2 separate regions of the Homo sapiens genome follow, and region 2 is linked to region 1. The links are contacts of gene promoters, found by promoter capture Hi-C in human tissues and cell types (Jung and others, 2019). All regions are on one chromosome and are shown on one strand. The core of a region is centred on a gene start or on the middle of the fragment in contact, and the rest is flanking DNA. Distances in the headings are between cores, read along the strand shown. Region 1 holds the start of CCDC30 (coiled-coil domain containing 30). Region 2 has its middle 21 kb from the start of RIMKLA.

Region 1 (4,331 bases), core at 644-3,143:
CACCATGCCTGGCTAATTTTTTGCATTTTTTGTAGAGTCAGGTTTTTGCCATGTTTGCCCAGGTTAAATTGTTTTTAAATTTATGCCTTGCTATTCAATAAATACATATTAGAAGAGGAAAGGAAAGGAAAGCCCCTTACAATATAGCATCTAACACTTTTTTCAAGAGTTAGGTTTTATCCAGTTCCAATTTAATGTGCAAGATTGAAAAGGCTGCAGAACTTGTTTTTGTTTTCCGATCTATTCTAGAGGAGAAAGCTGAATTTCTCAGTATTTAAAAACTTGACCTGGCTCTAAGCATGAGACATCACAAACGACTGCTTCTATTGGACTGAGAAATCAAAATATCCAAATCATTGTAGCCCCAAATAGCTGTTTAAAATGTGTATGTTCTGTATGTCCTCAAAATAGGTTTACTTTTAAACCTGAATACTGAAGAAGAAATAGTAAGATTCAACAAGGAATGCGTATTGTAAGACAAATTAAGTCAAGCTTTCCAAGCTAAAATAAAATTGCACTGGATCTAAATTAATCTTATGCCATATTTAAGGCCCTCTGTTCCAGCCTTTTTAGAACAATTGTGTCTGCTCCCTTGCCAAAAATATTTATTTTCAATCACTCCTTATTGTTTTCATTTATTGGCTTACATCACAAAGAATGTTTTCTGATTCAGAAATTGACAGGAAAAGAAGGCACAAGTACTATTTCAATCATCTCCTCTCCAGAAAATTACATCATATCCCCAGTGTTGGGTTCATATGGGCTTAAAGTTGAAATCCTGTCTTACATGATCACTTTGAATGCCCTTTTCACATTGATAAACACATCAATAAAATTTAATGAAACAAGGAACAACCTTCTTTCATTATGTAAGCCTGAAATGGGTCCAATACTGCAATTTTGATTTTTTTTTCCATTTTCAAAACACACTAGACCTACAGTATTTAATGTTTATATTTACCAATTTGCACTTCTCCTAGTCTCTAGTTTACCCAAGACTGAAAGGTTGCCATAGTGCAAAGAAAAACAGAAAATCTTCCCAATGACTGCAGAGCTGGAGAATGCGAAATACTTAGGTACGCAAAGCATTGTAGCAGGAAAGCAGAAGGAGGTGGTCTATAGATGACAGAGGTGGTGCAGACAAATGGACATTCAATAATGTGCAGCGTGAACAGGGAAAAGTTAAAATGGCTGTGAAATAAGCAGGATGAGAAAGCTGGTGCTTGGAGTGATGAGAGAAGTGGAAAAAGTTGTAGCTTGAAAGGCAGAAGGTAACTGACTTCATGACCTCTGATGTTGAGGATACAAAAGGCCTCCAAATCTTCATCGGGATTCAAGGTTCTGCATGACGAACATCGGCCAAAAAAAATCAGAAAACGGTAGTTCTTTGTTCGCGGGCCTACACGTAGGGGAAAGCTGCCCCTCCGTGGACTTCGTAGTGGCCTGGACCTTCGGGCGTTGTCTGTCCAGGGGCGCGTCTCGACACCTCACCTTTAAGTGAGAAAAGGAACGCCGACCTACCTCGCTGAGGATGTTCTAAGCCCGCTCTAATAATAAGCGGCAGCCTAATACTAAATGCTTGTGGCAGCTGGGTCCGGGGAAAACGGGCGAATTCTCCTTCAGGCGGAATCACTCCAGCCAGGGAATAGAAAGGCCGGGCCAGGAGGGGTTCCCCTCCTGTAGTTTCGGACCATACTGGGGAGAAGCAGAAAAGGCCCGTAATGCGGAAAAGAGGGGAGAATGGGTGCTTTCCTCCTTGGGGCTGAGGCAGGAACCTCAAGAACCAAGTCGGAAATTTTCCTGCGGAGGGTGCCGCGAGCGTCCCGGGGTCGCTCGGCCCCTACGCGCTCAGCTGCTAGCTGCAGGTGCCTACGGAGACCTGGGCGTCATAGCAACCGCGCTCGCCGCAGAGACGCAGACGCGTCCTTCCGGCGGGAACCATAGAGACGACGCACGCCAGTGGAACCAGAGACTGTGGTTCTTGTGGAGACTGTTATTATGTCTCACACCATTGGCCTTCGGGTCGGGGGCGGAGTTGTCCCGGCCGTATCGATAGTACAACTCATTCCATTGGCTTTGGAGACAGCTGTAACCATGGTAACATGTCGAGCGTTTGCGACTTAGCGAATACATTTTGTCTTGGGGCGTTCTAGCTCTCAAAGAACTTCCCGCCAGGACTCAGCTGGAGCCCCTGCCTACTAACCTTGGATTTATTTTTCTACAAGTTCCTTCATTCTTAAAGGGGCAGGAAGTGCTAGCTCAAGAGCTCTGAATTTTAGGCCTAGATCGTGTCACTAGCCACGTGGGGCACGTAAGATAAATCACAATTTTTGGATCCAGCTTATTATTGTAAAAAGGAAGAAACTGGGCTTGACTAGAATTGTCCCTAAGGCTGAAGCCCTTTAGAAGTCCTAAGCACTGAAAATTCAGGTAAGATGAACGTTATCTTCCCCACCTATGTAATGCAAAATAAAAACTTATAAATGACACAAAATTTAACATACTCAATTTATATCATCTTTTTAGATGCTCTTATTGCAAAATTCTAGTTAATTATCAAACTCGATTTTAGTCATGTTTTGGGGGCCCTTGCTTTGCTGGTATCCCAAACACAACATTTCTTGGTCTTACTCTAGTTCCCCAAGAGAATACTTCACAAATTTTTGCTGGTTCTACATGCATTATCCGGACGTATTTTACTCTTTATATAATAAAGTGCCTCAACCTCTCCTTCTGGCACTAGACCTCTTGCAAGTGTTTTTTTCTGAACTAAAAGGCTCACCACCAGCACTTGTAGCCCACTTCACTCCTGTTTATCAGTTTAAGTATCACCTACTCAGGGAGACATTCCTTGATCCTCCATCCAAGATCAGGTTCTTAGTTACCCTCATTGACTCATGTTCCTTTTCTTTATACACTTCCATTTGCTATTAAAACACACACACACACTCTCCCCCACCCCCCTGGAATTTTTACTTGTGTAAATAATCTAAGTGCTCTGAATATAAATTAAACTGAAGTGGAAAACACTAAATAATTTCATGTAGAACACTGATTGTTTTTAAGCGTTAACAAGACAGGATATAAAATTCCCAAGGGAGGTAATAATTATGGTAAAGACAAACATTAAGATCACTTCTACTTTTAACCCCATATATCCCCATTGTACATTCAAAGATGACAGTCATCATCCACATAAAGCTATGAATGCAGAGAAGAACATATTCTACTTCTTGCCCTTCAGTACTGCAGCCACTGACAGAGCCCACTGCTTTTGGGGTTTTGCAAATTGGACCTGAAGTTCACTTAAAATCATTGTCAAAGGAGCCTGGGTGGCTGGGCGCGGTGGCTCACGCTTGTAATGCCAGCACTTTGGAAGGCCGGGGCGGGCAGATCACGAGGTCAGGAGATGGAGAACATCCTGGCTAACAAGGTGAAACCCCATCTCTACTAAAAATGCAAAAATTAGCTGGGCGTGGTGGCGGGCGCCTGTAGTCCCAGCTACTAGGGAGGCTGAGGAAGGAGAATGGTGTGAACCCGGGAGGCAGAGCTTGCAGTGAGCCGAGATTGTGCCACTGCACTCCACCCAGGACGACAGAGCAAGACTCCGCTCAAAAAAAAAAAAAAAGAGCCTGGGTAACATAGTAAGACCTTGTCTCTATGAAAAATAAAATATTTAGCCAGGCATGGTGGCACACACCTGTAGTCTCAGCTGCTCAGAAGGCTGTGGCAGTAGGAGTGCTTGAGTCCAGGAGTTCAAGATTACAGTGAACCATGATTGGACCACTGCACTCCAACCTGGGTGACTAAGCATGACCTTGTCTCTAAGAAAATTTTTTTGTTCAAAGGGACTGCTGCTTCCAGAACAGTCTTGACTGCTGCAGTATTTTTCCTCTGTTCAAGGTCACATTTCCTGATTAATGAAGTATTTCAGTCTTAGAATTTCTGTCAAATCTTCTCAATTAAATTTATTGTACTTCTATTATCAGACAGACACAGGGGCTACCCTTCCCTACTCCATGAAACACCATGAATTGTATTTTAAGTCAAATATTTATGTGAAACACAGTACCTGCTTCTACCTTAGTCATCAATGCTAATTTTTCAAATTGCACCTGGACTATCCTACAGATCATTTAGGGAATTTTTTTGCACTATGCTACTTGTGCACTCCAAACCCAAAACGTAGGACAGCAAGAGAAGTATTGAAAGTTTTTCAAAGATTCTCAAGGATTCAAAGATTAAGCAGGGCAGTGGTGTAACACTGCTTTGCTAAGTGAGAAAAACAATAATTGCAACCATTTAGTGAGTGTGAATCAAATGCTAGGCAC
Region 2 (4,331 bases), core at 1,276-3,775, 100 kb after region 1:
ATTTTATGTTGCATACATCTAATAGAGAACTATTTTGCTAGCTGAAATGCTTTCTCACATAAAGAACTCTAGATGTAAAAAATAATTACCTTTCCCTAAATATGGTGGAGCCAACTACGATTTTTTTCATTTTATTGCAGATACTTTATAAAAATATACTATTTTCCTCTTGTAAAAGAGAAGTTTCCTCCTGGAAAGGCAAGAATATGGGCTTTGGAGCTAGATAAATCTGAGTATTAACATCTTACTAGTTGTATGACTTTGTTAGTTTTTTAAAAATTCCCCTCCCTCCTTCCCTTCCTTCCTTCCCTCCATCTCTCTCTCCCTCTCTGTCTCTCTCTCTTTCTTTTTTCTTTTTCTCTCTTTCTTTCTTTTGACAGGATCTCACTCTGTCACCTAGGCTGGAGTGCAGTGACACAATCATAGATCACTGCAGTCTCGACCTCTTGGGCTCAAGTGATCCTTCTGCCTCAACTTCCCCAGTAGCTTGGACTACAGGCATGCACCACCATGCCCTGCTCATTTTTAAATTTTTTGTAGAGATGGGGTCTCCCTATGTTGCTCGGGCTGGTCTCCAACTCCTGGCCTCAAGTGGTCCTTCCACTTCATCCTTCCAAAGTGCTGGGATTACAAGTGCCTGACCTAGTTGTATGACTGAATACATCACTTAACTGAATAATTTGTAAGAAATTACATGTGGTTGTTTGTAGAAGATACTAATTAAAGCAACTTAAATACAAAAGAGGCATATTTCTTCCTCAGAATAAAGAAGAGCAGAGTTAGGCAGTTCAGGGTTGGTGTGGCTGCTCCTTGGTCATTAAGCATCCAGGATCTCCCCTTTCCATGTGCTCTGCCATCTTTGGCACACACCTTCATGTTCTAGGTTACTCTTGGTCCAATATGGCTTTTGAAGCTCTAGCCACCTCATCTGCCTTCCAAGCAACAGAAAGGACAAACGGAAGAAGGGCAATAATGACAGAGTTCCAAGAAGCCTACCCAGTGACTTCTGCTTACATCTAGTTGGCCACTTTTATCTGCAAGGGAAAGGGAAATGAATTACATGTAATAGTTATTAGTATGGGTTTCAAGAAGCTGATTAAACCACTTGGAGGAAATAGGCAGTGTGCTAACCCACCAGTATAATAGAGAAATATTATGTGTGAGTCTATCCTTGATTTAGCAGCAAAAGCATAAGAACAATAAATATCTTGGGCTTAAATGTAAGTAAGCTAGTTGAAGTGTTTGTAGAAAATACCCTAATGCATATTCTCTCTCTCTCTCTCTCTCTCTCTCTCTCTCTCTCTCTCTCTTTTTGGAGTCAGGGTCTCACTCCTGTCACCCAGTGGTGCTATCATTCCTCACTGCAGCCTCAACTTCCTGGGCTCAGGTGATTCTTCCACCTCAGCCTCCCAAGTAGCTGGTACTACAGGTGCGTGCCACCACACCTGGCTAACTTTTTGTATTTTTAGTAGAGACAGGGTTTCGTCATGTTGCTCAGGCTGGTCTCAAACTCCTGGACTCAAGAGATCCACCCACCTTGGCCTCCCAAAGTGCTGGGACTACAGGTGTGAGCCACCATGCCTGGCTGCATTTTCTCTTAATAATTTGGATTATTTCCCTGCCACTCCCTTGCCTGTACTGTTATTCAATCAAAGTAGGCAAGGGTTAATGCCACGTAGGAAGGAAAAGGGTATTTGGTAGAAGAATTCCTGAGAGACAGGAAGGGAAAGCAGGAAGTTCTTCTGATAATTGGGAAAAGCAGAGAGTGTGAGAGACAAAGGAGTGGGAGGCCAGAAATAAGTGATTTGGGGATACAGATCTGGTGAAATTCCAAAACATGGCTCATGCCCACTTTCCAGATTTTGTTTCAGATGATGCAGGTTCCTTGGAACAACCCTGTATTGGGGTTGGTACCATGTTCAGTATGACTCAGGTAGTAACGGATGAGGGAGAAGTCTGAGAGCAGCCTCCCAGGATCCCACAAGTACATCATGTCAAGGAGAAAGCAGTCAAGAGTTCCTTGGATTCCTCAGGGGACAGATGGTGCTGAGGGGAACCACTTGGCTGCAGGAAGCCTTAGGTTGCATAAGCAGAGCACAGAATGCAGGAATGAAGAATCTCAGTAATAGGCAGCAAAATGATGCCACAAAAGATAAGATACAGCCAAGTTTCCCTCTGTCAGCTTCAACAGTGGGATGAGGGACATCTCAGGGAAGGCCACAGGACAGTGTGGTATTCTCCTCCTGCTTTTATGAGGGGAGAAAATAGCCAGCAGGGAGTGTGAATTTTTTTTTTTTTTTTTGAGACAGGGTCTCATTCTGTCACCCAGACTGGAGTGCAGTGGTGTGACCTCGGCTCACTGTAACCTCTACTTCCCGGGCTCAAGTGATTTTCCTGCCTCAGCCTCCTGAGTAGCTGGGATTACAGGTATGCGCCACTACCACCTGGTTAATTTATTTTGTATTTTTAGTAGAGACAGGGTTTCACCATGTTGGCCAGGCTGGTCTCGAACTCCTGACCTCAAATGATCCACCTACCTTGGCCTCCCAAAGTGCTGGGATCACAGGTACGAGCCACCGCACTCAGCTGGGAGTGTGAATTTTGAATGAATTAAATTCTATTTAAACTCACAGAGACATAAACACAATTTAAAAATTTCCCCCTGCTATTAGTAGGAATTGAGGCTTGAGTCTAAAATAGGAGTCATTACAGAAAGTAACAAATGTTAACATTCTTTCGCACATCTGAGTCATAGTATGCAAATTTCTGTCCTGCTACATGACACAAGGTCTGTACAAAAAAAGCACATGTATAGGTCAATTTCATTTATAAACATAGATTACAAAATCTTAAATAAAACACTGGTAAATTTAATCCATTAGGATAGTAAAAGAATAATACATCACATCCAAGTATTGTTTAGTCCACAAATATAAGTGTAATAGATTTCAAATAGGAAGTGTCCACCAGAAACCCTAAGGCAATAGATATTAGATGGCAAAGTTGTCAGCATACCCTTCTGTGGGAGTTTCAAAGTAGATAATCAAAAACCAGTTGCACAGTTCTCAAGCCCCTCATCCTCAGGGAGGTAAAGAGATGTTGCTGTAGGGCTTCTTTGAAGAGGACTTTTCTGGAGAGACATAAGCTTGTGAGGATTTCTCCTCCCTCTCTCCCAATAAGCAGGGTTGGGTGATACTTTCTTATTCTTAAGCCAAGGGGGAGCCATTTCAATGGGACCACTTGGAGACCTTGATATGTAACTCCTGCAGGTAATGGGATGCAGTGGACCAATATCTAACTCTTGCCTAGGACATGTGAAAGGCAGTGGTGGACTAGCTAGCTGTTCCAACTACAGGGGTGAAGGTCAAATAAATGATTATATCAAGTGGCCTGCACTCCAAGAGTTTGTCAGGGTGGAAGGTTTCTTTGGAAGGAGAGCTGGCTTAAACCCTTTAAAATCTTGCCTAGGAGGATTGCCTGGAAGAGCCATGGAACTCCTAACAGAAAGACCCAGTGTAGACTGGACCACCAAAAAACAGAGGCTGAGATGAGAGTAGCCAATGAAAGGGAGATGGTATCACCTGAATTATATAAGGTACAACAGAATCTTCCTACTGGGTCTTCTGCAGAATCTGTAAATGTGTCCTAAGAGAGAAATAGTTAGCTTTGAATATCTGCCAATCCCAGAAAGCTTGAAACTATTTAACAAAGCTTAGAGAGCCAGTATGTGAAAATGGAGACTAAATTCAACTGCCTCTTTTTTTTCTTTTACCATAACTTGTTTTCTCAACTTTCCCACTCCCCTCCTGCTATACCCTCCAGTAGAAGAAATTGATGCTCTATGCCATGTCCATGTTTTGCTGAATTTGCTCCCTTTTTTTCCTCTGCCTAGGATGTTTGTACCCCACCTCTTCTGGTTCACTCAGTCCTCTAGAAAACCATCAGCACCGAGGTCAATGAATAACATAGGGGCCTTTAATCTGTGTTGAGAGACCTTAGAATGACTATCACAAAGGCCATTTATCCAATGTGATCAGTCTAGAAATGGAACCATTCCATTAAAGTAGGGAATCATAAAATATGATCTGTACTTATTTTAAATATTTTAAGTTCAAACCCATTTATATACATCCATTCATAGGCCTTCGAATGTGAGGCAAGCTTGTTTTTCTTTGTACAATAGTCCACTGATTGGAACTCTGTATTATCATTCTTGAACAAACCACTCACAATATGCATTTTTATGATTCTTCATTTTGGGTTTCTTTAATGTGCAAGAACTTAAACACACCTAGGAAGATATCTATGTGTAGGACTTTAAATTACTTAAA

What was found. The method cuts DNA at HindIII sites, captures the fragments that hold promoters and counts their contacts. A contact is called where the count stands out against the background at its distance.
Region 2: a contact is called between a fragment that was not itself captured here and the fragment with the promoter of CCDC30 in region 1, in 2 of the 25 tissues and cell types used here (H1 embryonic stem cells and adrenal gland).

Annotation. Positions count from the first base shown.
Region 1 is chr1:42,460,848-42,465,178 of GRCh38, reverse strand. It overlaps CCDC30 (coiled-coil domain containing 30), which reads right to left and starts at 1,893. Exons shown (of 21, transcript NM_001395517.1): 1 at 1,281-1,893. PPCS (phosphopantothenoylcysteine synthetase) reads right to left here. Exons shown (of 3, transcript NM_024664.4): 3 at 3,943-4,331. RefSeq lists a silencer at 1,947-1,996. The HindIII fragment of the contact is 7,916 bases long and covers 1-4,331 here.
Region 2 is chr1:42,357,381-42,361,711 of GRCh38, reverse strand. No RefSeq gene overlaps it. Among named protein-coding and RNA genes, the nearest start is that of RIMKLA, 21 kb to the left of the region's middle. The HindIII fragment of the contact is 7,040 bases long and covers 1-4,331 here.